4 separate regions of the Homo sapiens genome follow, and all the other regions are linked to region 1. Evidence: promoter capture Hi-C in 16 types of primary human blood cells and fetal thymus (Javierre and others, 2016). All regions are on one chromosome and are shown on one strand. Each heading gives the region's core, a stretch centred on a gene start or on the middle of the fragment in contact. The rest is flanking DNA. Distances are from core to core; before and after follow the strand shown.

Region 1 (2,573 bases), core at 37-2,536:
GGCAGTAACCATAAACAAATTAATTACTAATATCAAATACTTACCTGGCACTCACTGAGTGCCAGACACTGTTGCAAACATTTCCTGTATCTCATTTAATCTTCACAGCACTGAGGTTTAGGATTATCCCCCCGTACAGGAAAATGGGAAACAGAGAGGTGCAGTTAATTTCCTAATCTCCCACAGCAGTAAGCGGCACCAGGTGGGTTTGGAGTCACCACATTTTTCAAGAACAGTTTAACAACTGGAGCTTCGAGTGTGGAATAATAGACACTGGAGACTTGGAAGGGTAGGAGAGTGAGCGAGGTGGGAGGGATGAGGAATTACTTAATGGGTACAATGGACATTATTTAGGTGATGGTTACACGGAAAGCCCAGACCTCACCACTGCATATCTCCATGTAACAAACCTGCACTTGTGTCCCTTACATTTATACAAAAAACTCCAAAAAAAACCTACAGTGTAATGTAGTACCCTATCCCATGCACTCACACTGCTAAATGTTGTTTCCAACGCACTCATCCGCGCACCCAGTGCCAGCTGCACCCTCCCGTTCCCTGCTAGCCTGACTTCTGGGCAGCAAGACCCTGCGGTTAGACGTGGGCTCCTGCCCACAGGGCTAGCTGGATGTGTGTGTCTTTCAAAGGCTGGACTTTACTCTCACCTCGCCCCCTCCACCCCCCAACACACACACACACACACACACACACACACACACACACAGTCCCTGGCAAGTCCTCAGAGCTCACGTGGTGCCCAGAGAAGTTGTGGGTGACACGATGAGGCACAAGCTCCATTCCCCGGGGGATGTAAGCTGAGACCCTACCTCTCTGTGCAAAGGCTAGTGCCACCTGCATGAGCTAGATTCAGGCAGGACCTGGAGACCCTGGAGGAAAGCAAGGCTGCAGGGTAGCCTTGGGTCGGGGAGGGAGGGACACTCTTAGGCCTCTTACTGAGGGCGGGGGTCCCGGAGAGCCATGGACAGGGCAACGCTCTACTAGGCTCCTTGGTTCATCCCAGATCAGCCCTTGGGCCCCTGGCATCTAAGGCAGCAAAAAGGCAAGGGGACACCGCCCGGGGTGGGGCACGCCACCGCGACAATGCCTCTTGGCCTTGGGTGGATAATGGCACCCCTGGGCAAACCCTAGGGGCGGGGCCCAGAGGCGAGGGGCTTCCCCAATCAGTCTCCGCCCTAGCGCCCTGGACTTCGGCCCCATTCCATTGGGTGAGGGTGGGGGCACGAAAAGAGGAGCGGGCTTGCGGCCCCACCGTGTCCCGCCTCCTCAGTCCCCAGCGACTCGCAGGGGCTGGTGGGGCTGGGGTCCAGCTGCCGTGCTCCCCTGCCCTGCGCCGCGCCGCGCGTCTTGGTAGGCGCTGCGCTGCCGGGGCCGGGTCCTGGGCCAGTGCAACTCCGCCCCCAGCCGTATCCAGCGGACTGTCCTCCGCCGCGCGCCCGGCACAGCATGGGGAGGCGCTGCTGCCGGCGGCGCGTGCTGGCGGCCGCCTGTCTGGGCGCCGCGCTCCTGCTCCTATGCGCCGCGCCCCGCTCCCTGCGCCCGGGTGAGTGCCCGCCGGCCGAGCCGCGCACCCCCAACCAAACCTGGCTCCTCGCGCTTTCCACCGCGGCCTGACCCCTCGACAGCGCGGGGGACACCTGTTGTCTCCTTCCTGGCTGGGGCTAGGGGTGGCGGGCAGGGGCGCTGGTGAGGCACAGAAAGGCTCTAGACGCCCCCGCGAGCAAAGGCTCTTGCTCCTCCTCCGGAGTTACCTCCCCACTCCCAGAGCGGTGACTGTTTTGAGTCCCACAGCCGGTGCCTGGAGACCGGGGTCAGTTGTGGGGGGTAGAGGACAATTGGCCAATCCGGGAAGGCCATCTCCCTTACCTTCACCCCCTTCCCCTGCGCACCCCACGGCCCCTGGACATGAGCGCTGCTGGGCGCATGCGCATAGGAGGGGAAGCTTGGGCCACTCGGTCCGGTCCCTTGGTTGTCCTACTGTGCAGTGGGTGCCACTCCCTGCTCCACCCTGAAATCCACACTGGGTAGGGCTTGGGACTCCTGTGCACCCACTCGTGGTCTGGCTGGGGAAACTGAGGCAGTTAGTCATGACTCCGCAGAGCTGAGTGCCCTGGGCTCCACCGGTGCTGAGTCTTTGCTCTGAGTCTCTCCTCAGCTCATGTGAAGCCTCCCATCAACCCATTTCACACAATCTGAAGCGGGCCAGAGAGTGGGGAGACAGGTGTGGTGGCAACGTGCTGGCTATACAATCTACTTGGGACTGGAGGGGCCCAGCCAGCGCCCGGGTCTCCTGACCTCAGGGCTGTTTGCCTTTCCTTGTATGTGGTATGCGTGCTGGGTGGGACGACTCAGTCCGCCTCCCCACCCCCAGTGTGGGCTCTGAGAATCCTGGGCCCCACCCTTGGAACCTGGCAGACACAGTCCCAGGGAGTAAGTAACTAGGTCCAGGGTGGGCGGGGATGTTGGGCAGTGGGGGTGGGAGTGGCCCAAGACTTGAGGATATCAGGGCCTGGGGAGGCCTCTGCCCACTCCCCCTGACCCTCACACTGCCCCTT
Region 2 (2,573 bases), core at 29-2,528, 1.0 Mb after region 1:
CTGTCACTTTCTGAAATTTTTTGGTCAAACTATAAGAGGATCATTGCCATCTGCATGAAGGAAAAAATTAGTAAAAGCTAAGACGCTATTTCATTCCTTATTTGAACCACGGTTCTAAGAGTCCCGTCTTATTTCAATCCACACTGATCTAGCAGTCTTGTGCTCATGGCTTCCCCAGACTAGAATGCCCTCCCTTTCTGCTCCTCCCTTCATTTCCCTGACATCTGCTCACCCTTCAAACTTGCCGGTTGGAAGGCCCTTGCCCCTAGCTTGGAGCTGGATCTCCTCCCCATGCCCGCAGCCCCTGGGTATCCCTCTGCCTGGCTCACCCCTCACCCACATAAGACAGGGCTCCTCTAGTTACAAGTGACAAGACTCAACTTAAGCTGGCTTGAGCCACAAAGGAGCTGTGTTGGCTGCAATGCCTGGAAACGCCTGCCATGCCCTGCTCAGGCTCGGATGGATCCAGGTGCTGGGCGGAGAGCTTGCTCCTGAGCCCTGCCCCTCTCCAAAGCTCTGCCATGGCCCTGATGGCCTCATCCTCAGAGACTCTCACAAGGGAGCTAGAGCAGCTCCAGAACCACATTCCACCGGCTCGGCAAACCCTGCAGTAAGCCACTTCTTTTTCTCAAGAATTCCAGAAGCAGCTCAGTGATTCCGATTGGCTCAGCCTGAGTCACATGCACGTTCCTCATTGGCTAGGCCTGAGCATGTTCCTACCAAGGAGCCCAAGCAAGGGCCAGTACCCAGAAGGGAAGTTGGGGGCATCTTAGAAGTCTGGGCAGGCAGGCCAGGTATGATGGCTCACGCCTGTGATCCTAACACTTTGGGAGGCTGAATCGAGAGGACCATTTGAGCTCAGGAGTTCAAGACCAGCCTGGGCAACATAGGGAGACCCCATCTCTATTTTATTTAAAAAAAATTATTTTAAGAAGACTGGGCAGGCAAAAAAGACTGGACTCCATGGCAACACAAGGTTGTAATTTGTTTTATTGTCTGTCTTCTATATCTAGATCACTATAGAGCATGGCACAGGCATACTAGGTAGGTGCTCAGTAAACATGTGCAGAATGCTATGAGTGGGAAGGACAAGATGTAGCCTGGGAGAATCCTCCTGATGACAGGGCCCAGGATTGCAGGGATGTCTGAAACTCTGATATGTGCAGGAGCCAGGCAGGAGACATGATGGTCCATGCCAGGAGGACCAGTCAGAACTGGGGGAGAAATGTCCCAATCTGAGACTGTCACATCTTCTGATTTTTTTTTTAATGAGAAGCCTAATATTTGGACAATATATGAAATCTTGTAATATTTAAAATCTGACAACTAATATTTTAAACATTGTGCAAGCCCACAGGATACCTGCATTTATGAGGATGATGAGGGTCAGCATTTGGAATTGGGAAGAGTAGGAACCTTCTGGAAGGCCACCGTCACAAGGGCTGCATCAATGTCTAGAGGAGGGTGCTTGTCACCCACTCCAGTCTGTAGTCAAGGGTTTCAGAGCCAGCCCCTGAGGCAGCCCAGGTGCTCACAGTGGGGAGGCCAATGGTGTGAGGGGTGTGCCCCACAAGCCCATGGCCCAGCTCCAGCCCGGGCAAGCCCCAGCCCATGGGGAGGGCCAGCTCCTTGGAGTGGCTCTCACATTTTCAACCTCGAATTAGGCCCTGTCTTCCCCAGAATACCATTCGCCTCCAGCCAAGCAGAACTGATCTTGCATCCCAGAGCCTCCCGGAGCCGGCTTTAAACACTCTTCACAGCAGGTTTTTGGATCTTGATTTGAAGAATGCATTCAGCTGAGTCACCGTCCCCAAACAATATGAGAAATAAATCGTTGGGCACGCTCCTGATCCCAGAGCCAATTACACGGGCCACTCCCCACAAGCAGCCCCTATACCCTCCAGAGAAGGTCCTGCTGAGAAACAGAGCATGGACAGTTCCCCGGATGGAGATGCTGCACTGGGCCAGGCCCTGCACGGGATGGGGTGGGGGCTTCATGGAAGCCAAGGAGGCACAATCAGCCCCACATTATAGGTGGGGAAACTGAGGCACAGAATACAGGAAGCCTGCCAGCTCACTTGAGGAAGTGGCAGAGCTAGGAGTGGAAACGAGTTAGTTCTATGCTCCAGAGGTGTGCACTCCAGACCCCGCTCTGCTATAATCACCCCAGGCGCTCTCAGTCCCATCCCAGCAATCCTTTCGGCATTTTCTCTACATCCTCCAGACTGGTTTTGGAGTGGCTACAGGCTCCTCATTTTGATGCAATGGCCCAAGAAACAAGGCTCGGGGCCCTTCCAGTGCTGAGGGTGTTTCTGTCAGATGTGACAGTGCGGCGCAGTGGTCAGAGGCCTGGACTCAGCCCGATTGCCTGGAGTCAAAACCCACCCTACCGCCATGTATTTGGCCATGTGACCTCACTCCCTCAGGTTTCCCCGTCTGTAAAGTGGAGCTGTATAACCCATGGCGAGTGTTTAGAATGCTGCCAGAACATAGGGTTTAGAACTACTTTCATATCCCCCTAAATCATCAACCAAAAACATGTGCAGTGCCAGATGAGCCTGCCTTCCTCTCCG
Region 3 (2,573 bases), core at 26-2,525, 1.0 Mb after region 1:
CCCTGGTGCCCACGTCAAGCATGGCGCGGAGCGACTGCACTGTGCCCGGGCTGCACTGGGGGCGAGAGGCCAGGGAGCCCCTACGGCCTCCAGAGGCCGGGCGTTGGGGGGGCCGCAGAACGTCGGGGACTCCCTTGGGACCCACGCTCAGCTCCGCCCTGCCCGCACTCGGCTGGGTCCTTGGGGCCCCTCCCCTCTCTGGATCTCGCTTCACAGCCAAGATCACCAGCTGGGAGTGGCCAAGGTCACCAGCTGGGAGTGGCCGACCCAGCGCCAGGCGCCGTCCCGCAGCGCTGTCCCCGTCCCCGCAGGCCAGCAGGCTGCACGACTGTCTGAGCCTCAGTGTCCTCATCTGTAACACGGGCATCATCATATCCCCAGCTTCAATCTTCACGTCTCAAACCATTGAAATCTCAGCAGTAAGAATCCAAGTATCCAAGTGCCAAATTCTCCATCAATGTCTACATAGTTTTGGTTTAAGTCTGTCTTTTCATGCATTTCCTTTTAGCACTGGAATGAAGTTCAAGCAACAGGCCGGTCACGGTGGCTCATGCCTGTATTTCCACCACTTTGGGAAGCCAAGAAGGGCGGATCACTTGAGCCCAGAAGTTCGAGACCAGCCTGGGTAACACAGGGAAACCCCATCTCTACAAAAAATTTTTAAAAATTAGCCTGACTTGGTGGCGCACACCTGTAGTTCCAGCTACTGAGGAGGCTGAGGCGGGAGGATCGGGAGGATCGCTTGAGCACAGGAGGTCGAGGCTGCAGTGAGCCGTGATCACACCACTGCGCTCCAGCCGGGGCAGCAGAGCAAGACCCTGTTTAAAAAAAAAAAAAAAAAAAAAAAAAAAACCAGACACACAAGCGACAGTGAACCTCAGAGGCTGGCATATAAAAAGGGTGGTTTTTGAGAAGCAAGACCCTCCAGAAGTCAAGCTTTAGCCCTATCAAAAGATGTCCAAGAAACTTTTTTTTTTTTTTTGAGATGGAGTCTTGCTCTGTACCCAGGCTGGAGTGCAGTGGCACGATCTCAGCTCACTGCAACCTCCACCTCCCAGGTTCAAGCAATTCCCCTGCCTCAGCCTCCCAAGTAGCTGGAACTACAGGCATATGCCACCATGCCCAGCTAACCACACCTGGCTAATTTTTTGTATTTTAGTAGAGACGGGATTTCACCATGTTGACCAAGATGGTCTCGAGCTCCTGACCTCGTGATCCACCCACCTCGGCCTCCCAAAGTGCTAGGATTACAGGAGTGAGACAGCGTGCCCGACCAGAAACTATCTTTAAGCTAAAAATGCACTTAAAGAAAAAGGAAAAGTCAAAAGACAAATGAGAAACTGGGGAAAATGTTTGAAACTCATTACAAAAGTCTAGCACAGGGTCAGCAGGCTGTTTGTGTAAAGGGCTGTGTAGTGAGTACTTTCAGCTTTGCAGACCATGAGGGTATCTGTGGCAACTGTTCAGCTCTGCTGTGGTGGCAGAAGGCAACCACAGACAGTGAGTGCAGCTCTGTTCCAGTAGAATTTTATTTACAAAAAAATTTAAAAGGCAGTGGGCCCAATTTATCCCACAGGCAACAGTTTGCCAATCCCTGGTCTAACCTAATACATTAAAAGCTTCTAGAAATCTAGAAAAGACAACCCCCCCGAAAATTGGCAGAAAACTTGAATAGACAGTTTACAGAAAACTCAAAAGGCCCCTAAATGTATGACAAATGTCCAACTCCACACATGATAACAGAAATGGAAATTAATGACATCAAGTTACCATTTCTCACCTATCAGAACAGCAAAGAATTCTAGTGCTGCCGACAGCGTGTGTGTGTGTGTGTGTGTGTGTGTGTGTGTGTAACAGGTCCTTCCACATTGCCATGAGAGTCAAGGGAACACCCTCTGGAGGGGAAGCTGTCCATAGAAAGGGCTGTCATATTTACCATGTGACCCTGCAACCCTACCTCTGAGCATGGGTCTTGCAAACATCCTGGGCACCACGAAATGATGCGTCCTCACAGTTCCACCACGGGAGGCACTGCTGCCGTTTGTAATCATGAAAATATTGGAAACAACCCATCTAGGAGCTGGTTAGACAAACTCTGCTTTGGGCACACAGTGGAATACCGCACAGTTGTTGAAGACAGTGAGGAGGCTCCGTGGGCTGATAGGAAAATTCCACATGCTGTTGGGAAACAGGTCCTTCCACATTGCTGTGAGACTCACCACTACCGCTAGATCCCAGGGCCCAGAACAGTCCTGGCACATAATGGATGTCCAATAAATACATGAATGAATGAATGAATGAATGAATGAATGAATGAAGAATCTGCACACTCTAACACTTAGGGACGAGCCAAGAGAGGCTGCATTCCCTGGGCCATGCTAGTAGATGTTAGCAGAAAAACAAACATGCAGAACCACGCACACAGTATAAGGCTTTTGTGTAGGAATGGGGTGGAGAAATAAGAATGTCTATTTGTATATGTTTGTGTAAAGAAACATTAAAAGGATCCATAAGAAATCAGTACAAGTGGTCACCTGTCTGGGGCATGGGGTGGTCAGGAACAGGAAGGAGAG
Region 4 (2,573 bases), core at 38-2,537, 1.0 Mb after region 1:
GCGTAGAATTAGCATGGATTGGCTGTGGGTGTTTGTGGATCCAAGGACTGGCTTTCGTCTGGCCTGGACCCAGGCCTCTCCAAACCTCAGCCCAGCCCCATCCCAGCTGCCCTGCCTCCAGACCCTGCCCACCCTCTGAGATCCAAGGAACCTCTCATTATAGCTTGGCTTTCTGCTCTATGCACCCCAGGGTATCACCCAAGGTCATGTTTAGACTTTTCACAAGAATTGGACAATTAGAGCAGACAAACAGTATGAATAACAGCAGTGCACAGCTCAGAATCTTGAAGGAGGCTGGCGTAGAGGATGGTGTATGTGTGCAATTTCAAAGGGCTTTACCCACTGGAACTGCTGCAACCAGAAAGATGGAAGAAGTCAAGGTACTTTTTCTTATTTCCCCCCACCAAATACAGCTAAAAGTCATGGGTATTCTGTGTAGAATGAATACAAGGAGGCCCTAACATGTGCAGAGAAGCACAAGCTGGGAGCCTCAGGACCTGGCAACAGCATGGTGGTGAGTTCCATCTTTTTGCTTCGTGTTTGCCAAACTGGGTGCTAAAGAGTCAGCAACCTAGAAATACCAACAGGCTCAGAAAACAATCCCCCAAAAAAACCTGCTCCCTCTAGCCAGGCAAGGGGCATTCTGGAAAACTTTAGAAGATAACTGACCTACGCCATCAGACCACACAGGAAAAGACGAGGCCCCACACCACCCTGGCCAGCAGAGACTGAGGAGGGAGCCTAGACCTCCACCCTCACCCAGATGTACTGACTGAGATGCCACCCCTCCTTGGGAAGGTATTGGAGAAGCCCAGCTGGGGGCAAGGAAGTCCACCACAGCCGGGCCTCAAAGGAGGCTGCTGAGACAGAGGTTTAAATAAGGCCAGGAGCCCCACCACATAACCCCTAATATCCAGGCTTCAATCACAAATCACTCCACACCAGGATCCAGGAAAACACCGACCCTGATGAGAAGAGATGCAGAGACTAACCCAGGATGACACCAACAGCAGCATCATCTGAACAATTTGAAGCCACCATCACAAAAATGCTCAACGGCAAACACAACAGAATCAAGTGAGAAAATAGAAAATCTCTGCAGAGAAACAAGCCACAAAGAGGAACAAAATGGGAACTCAGGGTTGAAAACGCAACAGCCAAAATTAACTCAGTGGATGGCTCAACGCCAGAACAGAGAGGCTGGAGGGAAGAGTCAGTGAACCTAAAGATAAAATAATAGAAATTACTTAATTTGAACAACAAAGCAAAAAATAGACTTAGATAAAAATGAGCAGAATCTCGGGTATGTATATTTTGGCCTATATACATTTTGGTCTATATTTTGGTCTCTCTATTACAAAAGGCCTAGCATCCATGTCGTGAGAGACCCAGAAAGGAAGAAAGATGAGGGTGGAGCTGAAAAGATTTTCAAGGAAATAATGTTTAGAAATTTCCTAAATTTGGCAAAAGACATAAATTTACAGATTCAAGAACCTGAGCAAACCCCAAATGGCATCAATCAAAGCAAACCTATGCCAAGACACCTTCTATTGAGACTTCGGAAAACTGAAGACAAAGACAAAAATCTTGAAAGTGGCAAGAAAAAAACATCTTGGCCAGGCGCCATGGCTAACGCCTGTAATCCCAGCACTTCGGGAGGCCGAGGAGGGCAGATCACTTAAGGTCAGGCGTTCAAGACCAGCCTGGCCAACATGGCAAAACCCCGTCTCTATTAAAAATACAAAAATTAGCCAGGTGTGATGGCGCATGCCTATAATCCCAGCTACTAGGGAGGCTGAGGCAAGAGAATCATTTGAATCTGACAGGCAGAGGTTGCAGTGAGCCAAGATCGCACCACTGCACTCCAGCCTGGGAGACAGAGAGAGACTCTACCTCAAAAAAAAAAAAAAAAAACAGAAACAGGCTGGGTGCGGTGGCTCACGCCTGTAATCCCAACACTTTGGGAGGATGAGGCGGGCAGATCACGAGGTCAGGAGATCGAGACCATCCTGGCTAACACGGTGAAACCCCATCTCTACTAAAAATACAAAAAATTAGCCGGGCATGGTGCCACGCGCCTGTAGTCCCAGCTACTCGGGAGGCTGAAGCAGGAGAATCGCTTGAACCCAGGAAGCAGAAGTTGCAGTGAGCCGAGATTGTGCCACTGCACTCCAGCCTGGGCGACAGAGAGAGAGAAAAAAGAAACAGCATCTTACCTGTAAGGGAAAACCATTTTAATGACAGCAGATTTCTCACTGAAACCATGGAGACCAAAAGGAAGTGGCACAGCAATTTTCAAGAGCTGAAAGAAAAGAACTCTCAGCCCAGAATCTTACATCCAGTGAAAATATCCTTCAGAAATCAAGAGGAAATCAAGACATCTTCAGAAGAAAAAAAAAACAGAGACTTTGTCACCAGCAGACCTACCCAAAAGGAGTGATTAAAGGAAGTTTGCCAAACAAATAAAATGAGAAAAGAAGGAATCTCAAAGTGTAAGGAAGGAAGAACACAGTCAACAAAATATAGATAGAGACAATAGACCTCATCTCTTGAGTTTTCTAAATTATGCTTGA

What was found. Contacts are between HindIII fragments. The CHiCAGO score rates a contact against its expected background, and 5 or more counts as called.
Region 2: a fragment that was not itself captured here is called in contact with the fragment with the promoter of CHST13 in region 1 in 1 of 17 cell types (M1 macrophages); the score reaches 5.2 in M1 macrophages.
Region 3: a contact is called between a fragment that was not itself captured here and the fragment with the promoter of CHST13 in region 1, in 15 of 17 cell types (total B cells, naive CD4 T cells, naive B cells and 12 more). The highest score is 33.1, in total B cells.
Region 4: a contact is called between a fragment that was not itself captured here and the fragment with the promoter of CHST13 in region 1, in 9 of 17 cell types (total B cells, naive CD8 T cells, naive B cells and 6 more). The highest score is 14.3, in total B cells.

What each region holds. Positions count from the first base shown.
Region 1 is chr3:126,522,869-126,525,441 of GRCh38, forward strand. CHST13 (carbohydrate sulfotransferase 13) reads left to right here and starts at 1,287. Exons shown (of 3, transcript NM_152889.3): 1 at 1,287-1,561. The coding sequence starts at 1,465. RefSeq lists enhancers at 611-1,111, 1,112-1,612, 1,673-2,173, 2,174-2,573. The HindIII fragment of the contact is 2,161 bases long and covers 1-1,958 here.
Region 2 is chr3:127,565,319-127,567,891 of GRCh38, forward strand. No RefSeq gene overlaps it. Among named protein-coding and RNA genes, the nearest start is that of MIR6825, 8.7 kb to the right of the region's middle. The HindIII fragment of the contact is 3,552 bases long and covers 1-2,573 here.
Region 3 is chr3:127,547,932-127,550,504 of GRCh38, forward strand. All of the region lies in intron 6 of LINC02034 (long intergenic non-protein coding RNA 2034), which reads left to right. Among named protein-coding and RNA genes, the nearest start is that of LINC01471, 11 kb to the left of the region's middle. RefSeq lists a silencer at 1-312. The HindIII fragment of the contact is 683 bases long and covers 935-1,617 here.
Region 4 is chr3:127,528,837-127,531,409 of GRCh38, forward strand. All of the region lies in intron 5 of LINC01471 (long intergenic non-protein coding RNA 1471), which reads right to left. Among named protein-coding and RNA genes, the nearest start is that of LINC02034, 7.2 kb to the right of the region's middle. The HindIII fragment of the contact is 5,147 bases long and covers 1-2,573 here.